Regions from separate parts of the Homo sapiens genome. Here all the other regions are linked to region 3. The links are contacts of gene promoters, found by promoter capture Hi-C in blood cells and fetal thymus (Javierre and others, 2016). All regions are on one chromosome and are shown on one strand. Each heading gives the region's core, a stretch centred on a gene start or on the middle of the fragment in contact. The rest is flanking DNA. Distances are from core to core; before and after follow the strand shown. Region 1 overlaps ZXDC (ZXD family zinc finger C). Region 2 holds the start of LOC107986044 (a long non-coding RNA gene). Region 3 holds the start of ROPN1B (rhophilin associated tail protein 1B).

What was found. The method cuts DNA at HindIII sites, captures the fragments that hold promoters and counts their contacts. A CHiCAGO score of 5 or more calls a contact.
Region 1: a contact is called between a fragment that was not itself captured here and the fragment with the promoter of ROPN1B in region 3, in 1 of 17 cell types (total CD8 T cells). The highest score is 5.8, in total CD8 T cells.
Region 2: a fragment that was not itself captured here is called in contact with the fragment with the promoter of ROPN1B in region 3 in 1 of 17 cell types (monocytes); the score reaches 5.8 in monocytes.

The regions. Positions count from the first base shown.
Region 1 is chr3:126,469,779-126,473,318 of GRCh38, reverse strand. It overlaps ZXDC (ZXD family zinc finger C), which reads left to right. Exons shown (of 10, transcript NM_025112.5): 2 at 1,014-1,166; 3 at 1,268-1,346; 4 at 2,294-2,424. Among named protein-coding and RNA genes, the nearest start is that of ZXDC, 4.3 kb to the left of the region's middle. The HindIII fragment of the contact is 321 bases long and covers 1,642-1,962 here.
Region 2 is chr3:126,390,418-126,393,911 of GRCh38, reverse strand. It overlaps LOC107986044 (a long non-coding RNA gene), which reads left to right and starts at 1,664. Exons shown (of 3, transcript XR_001740563.1): 1 at 1,664-1,729. CFAP100-DT (CFAP100 divergent transcript) reads left to right here. Exons shown (of 2, transcript NR_103789.1): 2 at 619-880. The HindIII fragment of the contact is 2,070 bases long and covers 1,175-3,244 here.
Region 3 is chr3:125,967,327-125,971,118 of GRCh38, reverse strand. It overlaps ROPN1B (rhophilin associated tail protein 1B), which reads right to left and starts at 1,941. Exons shown (of 7, transcript NM_001308313.2): 1 at 1,719-1,941; 2 at 1-2. It also overlaps the pseudogene ALG1L1P. The HindIII fragment of the contact is 3,412 bases long and covers 1-3,401 here.

The sequences.
Region 1 (3,540 bases), core at 553-3,052, 500 kb before region 3:
CTCTAGCAGGTGAGATTGCAGAGGGAGAACCAAAGGGTGTAATTATCTATGGGGGTGTGGGGGGTTCTTGCCAAGGCAGAGAGAGTCTGTGTTCAGATTTACATGACCAAGTGTGTGAACACACCGAAGCCCAAAATACCCTGGAGGTATTTTGGGACCAGATTGAGGCCAAAGATCAGCATTTCTGAGTTAGATGTTGCTGGGGAAAGTAGGGTTCCTTGGGCTGATACTTTTGGGCAGTGCTATGCCATGTACATCTGTGTGGCAGTTCATAGGCATGATAGTATCTCGTTAAAGGCTCCAAGAGGAGCTGCAGCAAAGACTCCTGTTAAACATCCTGCAGCCTCATGTTTTCCACCCTGTTGGAGCCCTGAATGTTTCTGTCGGAGGAGAAGTATTGCTGTGGAATTGTTGAGGCTTAGCTGCTTTGGCCAGGGGTTAGGATTGAGGTGAAGATTACAAAGCAGGGAACCTAAGGAAATTGCGAAAGGAAAAAGAATCCAAACAGCAAGGGACAGGGCTGGCAGTTGGAGGGTGTCAGGGAGGAAATTTGGATATGTAGAGGATGCAGCATCACCCCCAAGGGGTGAAAAATCCTGGCTAGTAGGATGATTTGTAGCCTTTCAAAGATCAACCCTACCAGACAAAATCTTGTTCCTTAGTATTTGATTTCTCTCATGGGGTTCTTGGGTCTCAGTGTGTGTGCAGGATCAGTGCTCCGGAGCCGGCCAGTAGATGGCTGTGAACGGAGGACTTTCTCTTTATCGGTTGCTCCATCTCCAAGTCATGTTGCAACAGGTGGCCAGCGTGTGCCTATTGGCTGCCATTAGCTGCCTTCCTGTGGTGATCACAAAGCCAAGCATTAATGGTCTTCCCTTTTTAGAGAGTGCTTCTGAGTCATGTTTTCCCTTGTCTGCTTCAGTGTGAACAGGGTCTGGTGGGTGTGACTAGCATTAGCTATGTTGTATAATTTTTGCCACGCTTTGAGCAGGGTTTGTGTTTTCCTTGTTCAGGCTGTGAGAAGACATTTATCACAGTGAGTGCCCTGTTTTCCCATAACCGAGCCCACTTCAGGGAACAAGAGCTCTTTTCCTGCTCCTTTCCTGGGTGCAGCAAGCAGTATGATAAAGCCTGTCGGCTGAAAATTCACCTGCGGAGCCATACAGGTAATGAGCTAGGGAACGCACAGCATTTGGACCCAAGATTTGTCTTCATCGTAGCTGTTGGAGTTGTAAATTTTATGCTGTATAATTTTTTCTTTTATAAGGTGAAAGACCATTTATTTGTGACTCTGACAGCTGTGGCTGGACCTTCACCAGCATGTCCAAACTTCTAAGGCACAGAAGGTAATCCTTACATTTTGGTTTGCATTATCAGGTTTGAAAATGAGTGGTTTGTCAGCAGCAGAAACCAATGAATGAAATATCTGTAGACATTTTTTAAGTTGTTAAAAAAGGAGCTCAGTGTTGATGATTTGGAAAATTCAGAAAACTGTAAAAAGAAAATTGCTCAGAATCTCATCACCTGAAGTCAGTTTTTTCTGTGTATACTTTTTTTAAAAAAAGCTAAATTGGCATACTCTGTTCTTAAAAAAAAAACAATTCCAGGTTTTTTTTTTAACTTAACATTGTAGAATAAGCTTTCTTCATGTAATTACAAGTTTTCATGGTGGTAATGACAACCCTGGAGACTGTGTCCAGGTGACACTCAGCACTTTACATGTGTGTCTTCTACCTTCCCAACAACCTCAAAGCTAATGTTCTTATTCTCCCTGTTTTACAGTGAGACTCGGAGAGATTCAGTGGTTTTTCTGTACTTGCACAGCTGGGCTCTGAGGATTTAATATAAAAATGTCACTTAGGAAAAGACACAGTCTTTACAAGTTGGCTTAAGAGAGTCCTTTTGGCATTGCAGCTGATGCTCTGTGCACATTTCTCACGACCGTCTGTCGCTCGGAAAGCTTGTTGATCATTGGGGTTTCTAAACAATAGAAACACCTTCATCAATACATTTGGGACTCCACTGTTCTTAGATTAGCTTATATTAGATTGAAGTAGCATTAATTGTTTGATGTGTGACTCTGGGGTCAGCTTAGTCATTAAAGTAGAATTTTTATGGGGTAGCTAAATTGCAAATCTGCTCACATGGATTAAAGACAGAATTAAGATTTTCCGAAATGTACTGATCATTTTTGTAAATGCAAAGTTTGTGTTTTGGTATGTTTTGTAGAATTTTAAAGAATTATGGTGAGTTGTGTGAGGAATCACAGCTCCTTTATTTTTCTGTCTGGCAGGAAACATGACGATGACCGGAGGTTTACCTGCCCTGTCGAGGGCTGTGGGAAATCATTCACCAGAGCAGAGCATCTGAAAGGCCACAGCATAACCCACCTAGGCACAAAGCCGTTCGAGTGTCCTGTGGAAGGTAGATTTTAAAACATTGCTTTGAGCAGTAAACTAAGTGCAATGCCAACATTTATCCTGTTAAGTTTCCGTTGTTTAAAGGTAAATGTTAGCTGCTTAAAGACTGACTCAATATAAGTTGCAGCATTATGTTTACTTACCTCATTGAGTTAATTGTACTATTTTGGGAGCAGTGACTTGAGAATCAGACGCAGTTTGACTCATGGCCCTGATCCTCATTAGATCTGTGGCTCTAGTTAAGTTACCTGTTTAATTTGGTGGTCGTGAGGATTAGGTGAAATGTGGAAAATGCCTGTTTATCCATCTGGCATGGAGCTCGGACTCAGTAAATGGTAGGTACTTTTGAGATCACGTTTGAATTGTCACTCCAATCATTTTGTAATTGGAGAGCAGTAAAGCTAGACTGACTTTTTCTTTTTTTGTTTAATTTTTGAGACAGTCTTGCTCTGTCACCCAGGCTGGATGCAATGGTGTGATCTTGGCTCATTGCAACCTCTGCCTCCCAGGTTTAAGTGATTCTTATGCCTCAGCCTTCTGAGTAGCTGGGACTACAGGCGTATGCCACCACGCTTGGCTGATTTTTATGCTTTTAGTAGAGACAGGGTTTCACCATGTTGGCCAGGATGGTCTCAAACTCCTGACGTCAAGTGATCCACCCACTTTGGCCTCCCAAAGTGCTGGGATTACAGGTGTGAGCCACCACGCCCAACCTGACTTTTTAAAAGGTATAGTAGAGTGGTTTTTTCCTTTAAAACACTGAAGGCTCAGTTCATTTGCCAGAAATTGGCTGCGTGACCTGTGCGTGACTTGTGCGTGCTGGCCCTACTCTAGTTCTGCAGGTGCACTGGGAGGCAGTGAGCCAGGACACGTCGGGTGGTCATGGATTCAAAGTCTGGCTCTACCGCTCCCTAAAGTGGTGGCCTCAGTCAAGCTGCTTCTCTGGGCCTTGGTTTCCTTACCTGGAAGAGAGAATAATAAAGACCCATTTAAAGCTGAGCCTAGCTCTTAGAACATAATGAACATATATACAAGTGGTGTAACTGAGAAACAGTTCCTCCTTCCGTCAGAGTTTCAGCTGGAGGTGCAGACAGGGGAACAGGTAACATGTAGGGTGCTG
Region 2 (3,494 bases), core at 960-3,459, 420 kb before region 3:
GAGCTCCCAAGATGGAAGGAGCAGGGATCCCTGAATCTTCGCTGGTAGAATAGTGTCCCAACTTGCAATATCCACAGTGGGCTTTGCACAAGGGAGGAAGAATGTTGTATTGTGTTAAGCCACATATGTGATTTGTGCATGTGTGCATGTGCACATGTGTGCACATGTAGTGTGTGTGTGTGCATGTGTGCACGTGTGTGTTCGTTACAGCTGCTATTGTCAAATGTGCTGAAAGACAAGTTGTCCCTTTACCCTTAGGAGAGAGGCTCCTTACACTGACATTCAAAGTCCTCAATGACCCGGCCCCAGCCTACCTCTGCAGCCTTATCTCCCTACAAACCATCAAAGCAGAACAAAAACCTGTCCCTCCGATTTAGGTTTTAGCAAACCACAAGAAGCACTTCATAAACTGGTGACTCAAGTAGAAAAGTAAGTGTTTTTGTAATGGTTTATCTAAATACAAGGTGCTCTAATGAGACTTTTAGGAAGCTAGAACATAAGTGACCCAAAGAGAACAAAGGTACCCAGGCTCCTGCCCATTCATTGTCATCAACAGATCAGTTTATGAACAGTCGTGAATCTCCCCATGAACCTTACAGAGTGTTTTCTATGTGCCAGGTACTGTTCCACGCACTTGACACCAATCCACCCATTTCACCTGCATGATCACCCTGCCTTTGCATGAGTTGCCGGTGTGGACAGAGCAGGGACACAGTGAGACAGCGGATTCCAGCTTTGCTCTTACCTAGAACACACTGCCTCTCACCAGGAATCGTCCTTCCATTTTATGCAGTTATCCCAGACAATGATGCACAAGCTTTGGGAAAAAAACCCCACAAGTCCAAAGGTGTACTTCATAATAAAGGCAAGTTATCTGTCAGTTTGTGTGTTCTGGCCTTTGTTTTTGCTCTTGGTAGCTTACAAGGTTAGAAAGAAAACCACCTAGAAAACGTGACCTGATTTGGAACTTTTAGTCTTAGCCTAACAGGTCTAACTAGAAATACCATTTGCTGATTAAAAGCTAATTTTTAAAATCAGATGCATGATTGGTGGAGCAATGGTGGCTGGCTGGCTGTGTGGTGAATCGTAGTGGCCTGTGAGCTGTCCAGCCCAGGCAGTGGGCATGTGGATGTCTGCTTCAAAATCCTTCCAACATTTCTGTATGTTTGAAGCTTGAAAATGTTCATAATCAAACATTTTGGGAAAAGCTAACAATCTTCTTAAAGGAGAAATTCGTATTTCAGATTTCGTATTTTCCTCCTCAAAGAAGGTATATCAGTCTGGGCTCTCGGGAATAAACAACAGAAAGCAACTATAGCCACTTGGGGGAGAAAAGGACATGGGGGTGCCCCCAGACTCTGTAGGACGATAGGGAATCAAGCTGGGAGATGCTGTAGCCTGGAGCGGAGCCCAAAGCCATCGCAGGCGCGTTCTGGCAGAGAACATGCTGTGATCCGAAGTCTGCTATGCACTCCTGACCGGTAGGCAGCACCTGGATCGCCTGCCTGCACCTCCCGCCTTCCACACAAGATCTTTGGCTTCTGCCGTGGGAGGAGGGACTCAGAAACCAGGGGGGTCAGGAGTAGTCCTGTACCCAGACAGGGTATTCAGAGGTCTACCAGAACGACAAAGCCTGAGAGAGCAGCTTGTATTTCTTTCCTGCAGCACCTGGTCTCACCGTTGTTCTACAGCACAGCAGGCCAGGCTGGATTGGAGAGTCACCTTCAAGGTAAAATGCCTTAGATGCCCAGATCTCTCACATGGGGGTTTTCCTTTTGCTGAGAGGTGGTAGGTTATGGAGAATGACAGCCATGTCTACCGTGCTTCACGGTGAGTCAAGGGCTTTCCACAGGGAGGGCAGTGATATGAGCTCTTTGCACTACTTACACTGACCTAGGAGCCCCTGCATGGGTTGTGGCCTGCAGGACCATGTTTCAGGGGAAAGCTGCAAAGTCCTTAAAGAGTGTCTGAAGCCCCATCCCCCCTCCCTCTCTGGGAACGTGTCCCCAACCAGTGCCTGCCAGGTGCTCTAGCCTGGCATGCTTTTTATATTTTGTGAGCAATCACATTAATCAGATTGCTTTCCTGCCAGCTCAGATGGATGGATAATTTGATTGGAGTCTAGGAAAAAACAGGGATGACTTTTGGCATCCACATCCCAGGCATATCACATTTGACCACAGTGTCAGAGAAACAGTGCTAGTGGAATAAAAAAGAAGGTCTTGGAGCCCAGAGTAAGACTGGGCTCATATGTGGTCACAAGAGACCACATATCCTATGAAGGCGCCTAGATGGAATTGGGGAAACAGGCAAATGGGCAGTGGTGGCTAATGGAGATGGGATTTTGCTCTTTAGGGTGATGAAAGTGTTCTAAAATTAGACTATGGTGAACATTAGATTTACTCTGAATATAGTAAAATGCACTTTAAGTGGGTGAAGTTTAGATATGTAAATTATATCTCAATAAATATTTTCAAAAGGAGAAGAAGAAAGGGGTCCACATTGCCAAGTGCTCTTGAGTGGCCAAGTGAGAGGGACTGAAGAGTGTTCATTGGATTTGCCAACAAATCGGTTGACCTTGGTGTGAGCAGTTTCAGGATCTCCTGGGGGACTGAGATGGATGGGTGACGAGGAAGAGGAGAAAGTGCCCTGGACAGCACTTTTGAGGGTCCTGGCAGTGGCTCTATCTTGCTCCCTTATGGGTGTGCAGACCCACAGTGGGCCTGGAGAAATGACCCTGGTCTTCCCTGCAGCTCTGGTGGAGGCTAGGTCATTAAAGCCAGACCCCCAGTGCCACAGTTCAGAAGGCAGGATGCTGGGGCATGCAGCATGGCAGGTGAGAAAACTGCATGGCACTGGCCTGGTTCCCAGGTGTGCTCCTGGGCGTGGTCTCCACAGGTGGGGGTGGGGTGCAGGTCCCAGGTGGTTAGGGGACTGTGGTCAGCCAGCCAGGAAGAGGGGTTGAGACTAGACCAGGTTGTGGGCGTAGAGGAAATGAAAGAGACATACAGAGAGAGAGAGAGACAGAGAGAGAGTGTGTGTAGAGGCAGAAGGCAAGCTGGAGGGACCATGGTGCTGAGGAGGCTAGGGTGGGATCCAGATACAGGAGGAAGGGTAGGAGATGTGAGCATCAGGGGTGCTCCCCGGGAGGGCGTGATTTAGCCCCAGGAGCCCGGGGAAGGTAGTCTTTACACTAGTTTCAGGTATCATTTAGGTTGTATTTTGCTTCAAGAAACAGAAAGCTTCACCAGAAATGACTTACAAAGAAACTTCTCATGAGTAGCCCCTCAGAACACCTCTCCTCATATCTTAGCCAAAAAACTGCATGCCTAAACTAATCGCTGCCAGGGATAGAAGCTGGGGACTCTGTGGGAGGCCCCATCCCGGTGCCATAGGGCTGGTGCCTGGACGGCATCCGTTGTGTTAGGGAAAGGGATGGGGGGATCTGAATGGATTCTGGCTTGGCCATAGCACCCACTCCATGACATCCCCAC
Region 3 (3,792 bases), core at 692-3,191:
TGCTAGGCAGGGTGGATAGAGACCAAGGATTAGGCTCACAAAAGGCAAATGTCTGGACTAAAGGACTCCCCTTCTGACCTAAACTTGAGACCCGCCCAGGGACTACACCCTCAGCGTGAAAAGGTGTGGCTGAAAATATCTGCCTACAGGCTGGGGTAAGCAACAAAGAAACCTGTCTCCATTGCTGCTTCTAGTCAGGAGAGAAACAGTCCCCCAGGAGTTGGTAGCCACAGACTAGTTCTAAGTTTTCCATTTATACCAACACCAGCATGGCTCGGAAATCCCAAGACAAGAAACTAAAGTGGTCTTAGATTGGTGGGACTTCATGACCTTTTACTTTATTTATGTTCTTTTATTTGGAGGAAAAGGATGATAAAATAATGATTAATTTTAGACTTTGCAAAGTATTAGAAAAGTTTTAACAGTAATAACCACTAAATCTGTACAGAGGAAAAAAGGATTTTTTAAAATTTTTTTAGTATTTATTGATCATTCTTGGGTGTTTCTCGGAGAGGGGGGAAGAAAGGAATTTTTAAAAAACACAAAAAAGCAAACAAAACATGCCTCCCAATGTGAAATGGCAGCCCAACGTATACCTGCCAAGTGCTGAAGAATGTAGGTCTTAAAATAGACTGTATAGTCTTGTTTCAGGGATTTCTCACTTGTTTTTATTGGTATGGGCTAAACAGGGCTTCCATTTCATAAATGAAAGTCTCCATTACATGAATGAAAGGCTCCAGGGCAGAATCTCAGAGGGTTTCTATGAGCGGCTTGGAACCAAGCACAGACAACTGCACATCCCTGTTTGGGTTCGGAATTGGAGGTGGTGGGTTTGGGATGTGGTTACTCTTGTTTGGAATGCATTCTCCTCCTCTTAACAGGTTGATTCTTCCTTTGGAGGTCTGCTTAACCTTCCCTGATTACCCTGTCAGTTCCATTGTACATACCCTTCCAGAGCATCACTTACCTATCCTTAGTGTGATTCTTTGAGTAACATGTGTCTCCCCCAGCAAACTCCACGGCAGGACTGGTCAGTTTTTGCTCACCACACCATCCCAGTGCCTAGCCCAGTGCCTGGAACTTAGTGTTCAATAGGTACTAGTAAAAATGAATGCGTGATAGCAGTCTATGAAGTGCTAGCTATAAAATGAACACGTGATAGGAGTCTATGAAGTGCTAGGTATAAAATAATGCGTGATAGGAGTCTATGAAGTGCTAGGTATAAAATAATATGTGATAGGAGTCTATGAAGTGCCAGGTATAAAATAATGCCTGACAGGAGTCTATGAAGTGCTAGGTATAAAATAATGTGTGATAGGAGTCTATGAAGTGCTAGGTATGCCCATTGGTCCACATGACAATTCACCCAGAGGTATTTTTATATCCCTGTCGCTGATGAAAAAGCAGAGGTGTGGCTCCTCGGTGGAGGGCTCTGATTCCAAACTCTTGAGCCTCCCAACCACTGTCCTCCGGGTAAGAAACCGTATAATAGTATTCTGGGTACAAAATACGCACACAAATTGGCCAGAAAGCCATAATCCCCCACAGTCACATTCTCTTGAAGATCCCCTTGCCTTCCCCTTGCCCTCCCCTTGCCCTGTGAACAAGGAGAGGCTCAGAATCCAGGGGGCGTCCGGCAGGGCTCCTCCCTCAGACCAGCGCAGCCCTCGGGGCGCTCAGAGCCCTGCCCTCCCTCCACTTCCCCTCGGGGTGGCTACCTCAGGCTCGCTCCCAAACCGGCTGTCTGGCTTCAGGCGACACCTGGCGCCTGGCCTCAGGCGAGAGGTGTGGGGAGAGACCGAGTGCCTCCCACCCTTCTTAAGAAGGAGAGCAGTAGAACCTCGGCGGGGAGGGCAGCAGCGGCCGGGGGTGACAGCAGCGGCGGGGCACGACCGCCGTTAGCGTTAGACGTTAGCGCTCCGCCTTCGCCTGGCAAACCCTGCGCGGGCTCCGCTGCCAGGTCACCAGGGGTAGCGCCGGGCGCGACGTCACAGAGCCGCCCCGCCTCTCCTGCAGCGGCGGGTTCCCAGGGTCCCGCTAGGGCGCTGCTAGGGGACGCTGAAAGCTGTTTTGGGCTTTGCTGGTGGTGGAAGGACCAGACGGCCTGGAGGGTTAAGGACTGGGCTGGGGACGTTAGGAAACCCGGGCTGGGGGCGTTGGGGGTGGGGCGGAATGTGTAGCCATTGACGGTGCGCTTTTGTAGGTGAGAGGGCAGAAGTGGAGCTTGATCTTTCGGCTTGTGGAAAGTGGACAGGTGAGAATTCCTCAGGAATCATAGCAACAACACCTCTTACAATGCGTTTTTGGTGCCAGGAATTGTTCTAAGTGCATTACACACATGAACTCATTTCATCCTTACTGTCACCCCATGAGGCAAGTACTATTGTTATCCCCATTTTTACAGATGAGGGAACTGAGCACAGAGAGGTTAAACTTGTCCAAGATGACAGTCAGCAAGTGACAGAGTCAGGATCTGAATCTGGGTTGCGTGGTCCCAGATTCCTCACTCTTGACCTTATAATGCTAAGAAAGGGGCATGGAGTGGATAGGAACAGAGCCTGAGATGCCTGGGGACAACAGGGAAAGATAGAAAATATTTATAGGGTAGAATGTGGTCACTGTGCCAGGGCACTTTTACAAACATGATGACATCAAAGTTTCACAGTAAACTCTGAAGGTAGATATTACCTTCGTTTTAGAAAACAGGCTCAAGGCTTCGAGTAATTTTGCCTGTGATCAAACAGCTGGCAGTAGGGCCCAGGGCCCAACTTGTCTCCAGGTCTTCTGATTTCAAGACTGTTGTTTTTGTTTTGTTTTGTTTTGCTTTGCTTTGTTTTGAGACAGAGTCTCACTCTGTTGCCCAGGTTGGAATGCAATGGGGTAATCATGACTCACTGCAGCCTCAATCTCCTAGGTCTAAGCAATCCTCCCACCTCAGCCTCCCAAGTAGCTGAGACTACAGGTGTGTGCCACCACACCAGGCTAATTTTTATATTTTTATAAACAGGGTTTTGCCGTGTTGCCCAGGCTGGTCTTGAACCCCTGGGCTCAAGTGATCCACCCCCCCTTGGTCACCCAAAGCACTGGGATTACAGGTGTGAGCCACCGCACCTGGCCTCAAGACTGTTCTTTTTAAGCACCCAAAGAGGCAAGAAAAGCCCCATCTTTCTCTGCTACACCCCGTGTCACTTCACACCCATATGAAAGCTGCTCATTGCATCATGTAATCCTTCAGTCCATTTATACTACAGTGTGTATTAGTCTAAATCAATTAATTCACCCAGGGTCTTCAGAGCTTTCTCTGGTTGTGAGATGAAAGCCTTTGTCTCTCCCTAAAGCAATTTTAAGCATCAGTGAACAAGTGGGGGAACTAGATTTTTGGCTTATGCATGCAGAAAGCTTTTCACAGCCTGTTGTCATCCATTTGTAAAGAGGCCACTCTGCTGGCATTTGTCAAAATCCTGCAGGTCCTTGCACACCTGGAGAATCCTGGATGGTCTGGGGACGGCCACTGCCCACAGGGCAAGATCTGGGGATGAAAGAAACCTAGTCACTAGCTATCACCTATCTTTCTGAGGCCTCTGTGGAGGGGCTACCAGGTGTTGGTACAGGCACCTGACCAACAGAGTGTGCCTTAGGTTGGGAGGGGGAGGCTGGAGGCTTGAGGGCTGCAGGTGCATCTTCCAGGATAACAAGAATGCTCTGGCCACTGGAGTCTGTTCTGTTGTATGCACATGAGATGAAGGTGTGCCAATCTCTTCCTGCTTTCATGCTGAGTAAATAATACTGACA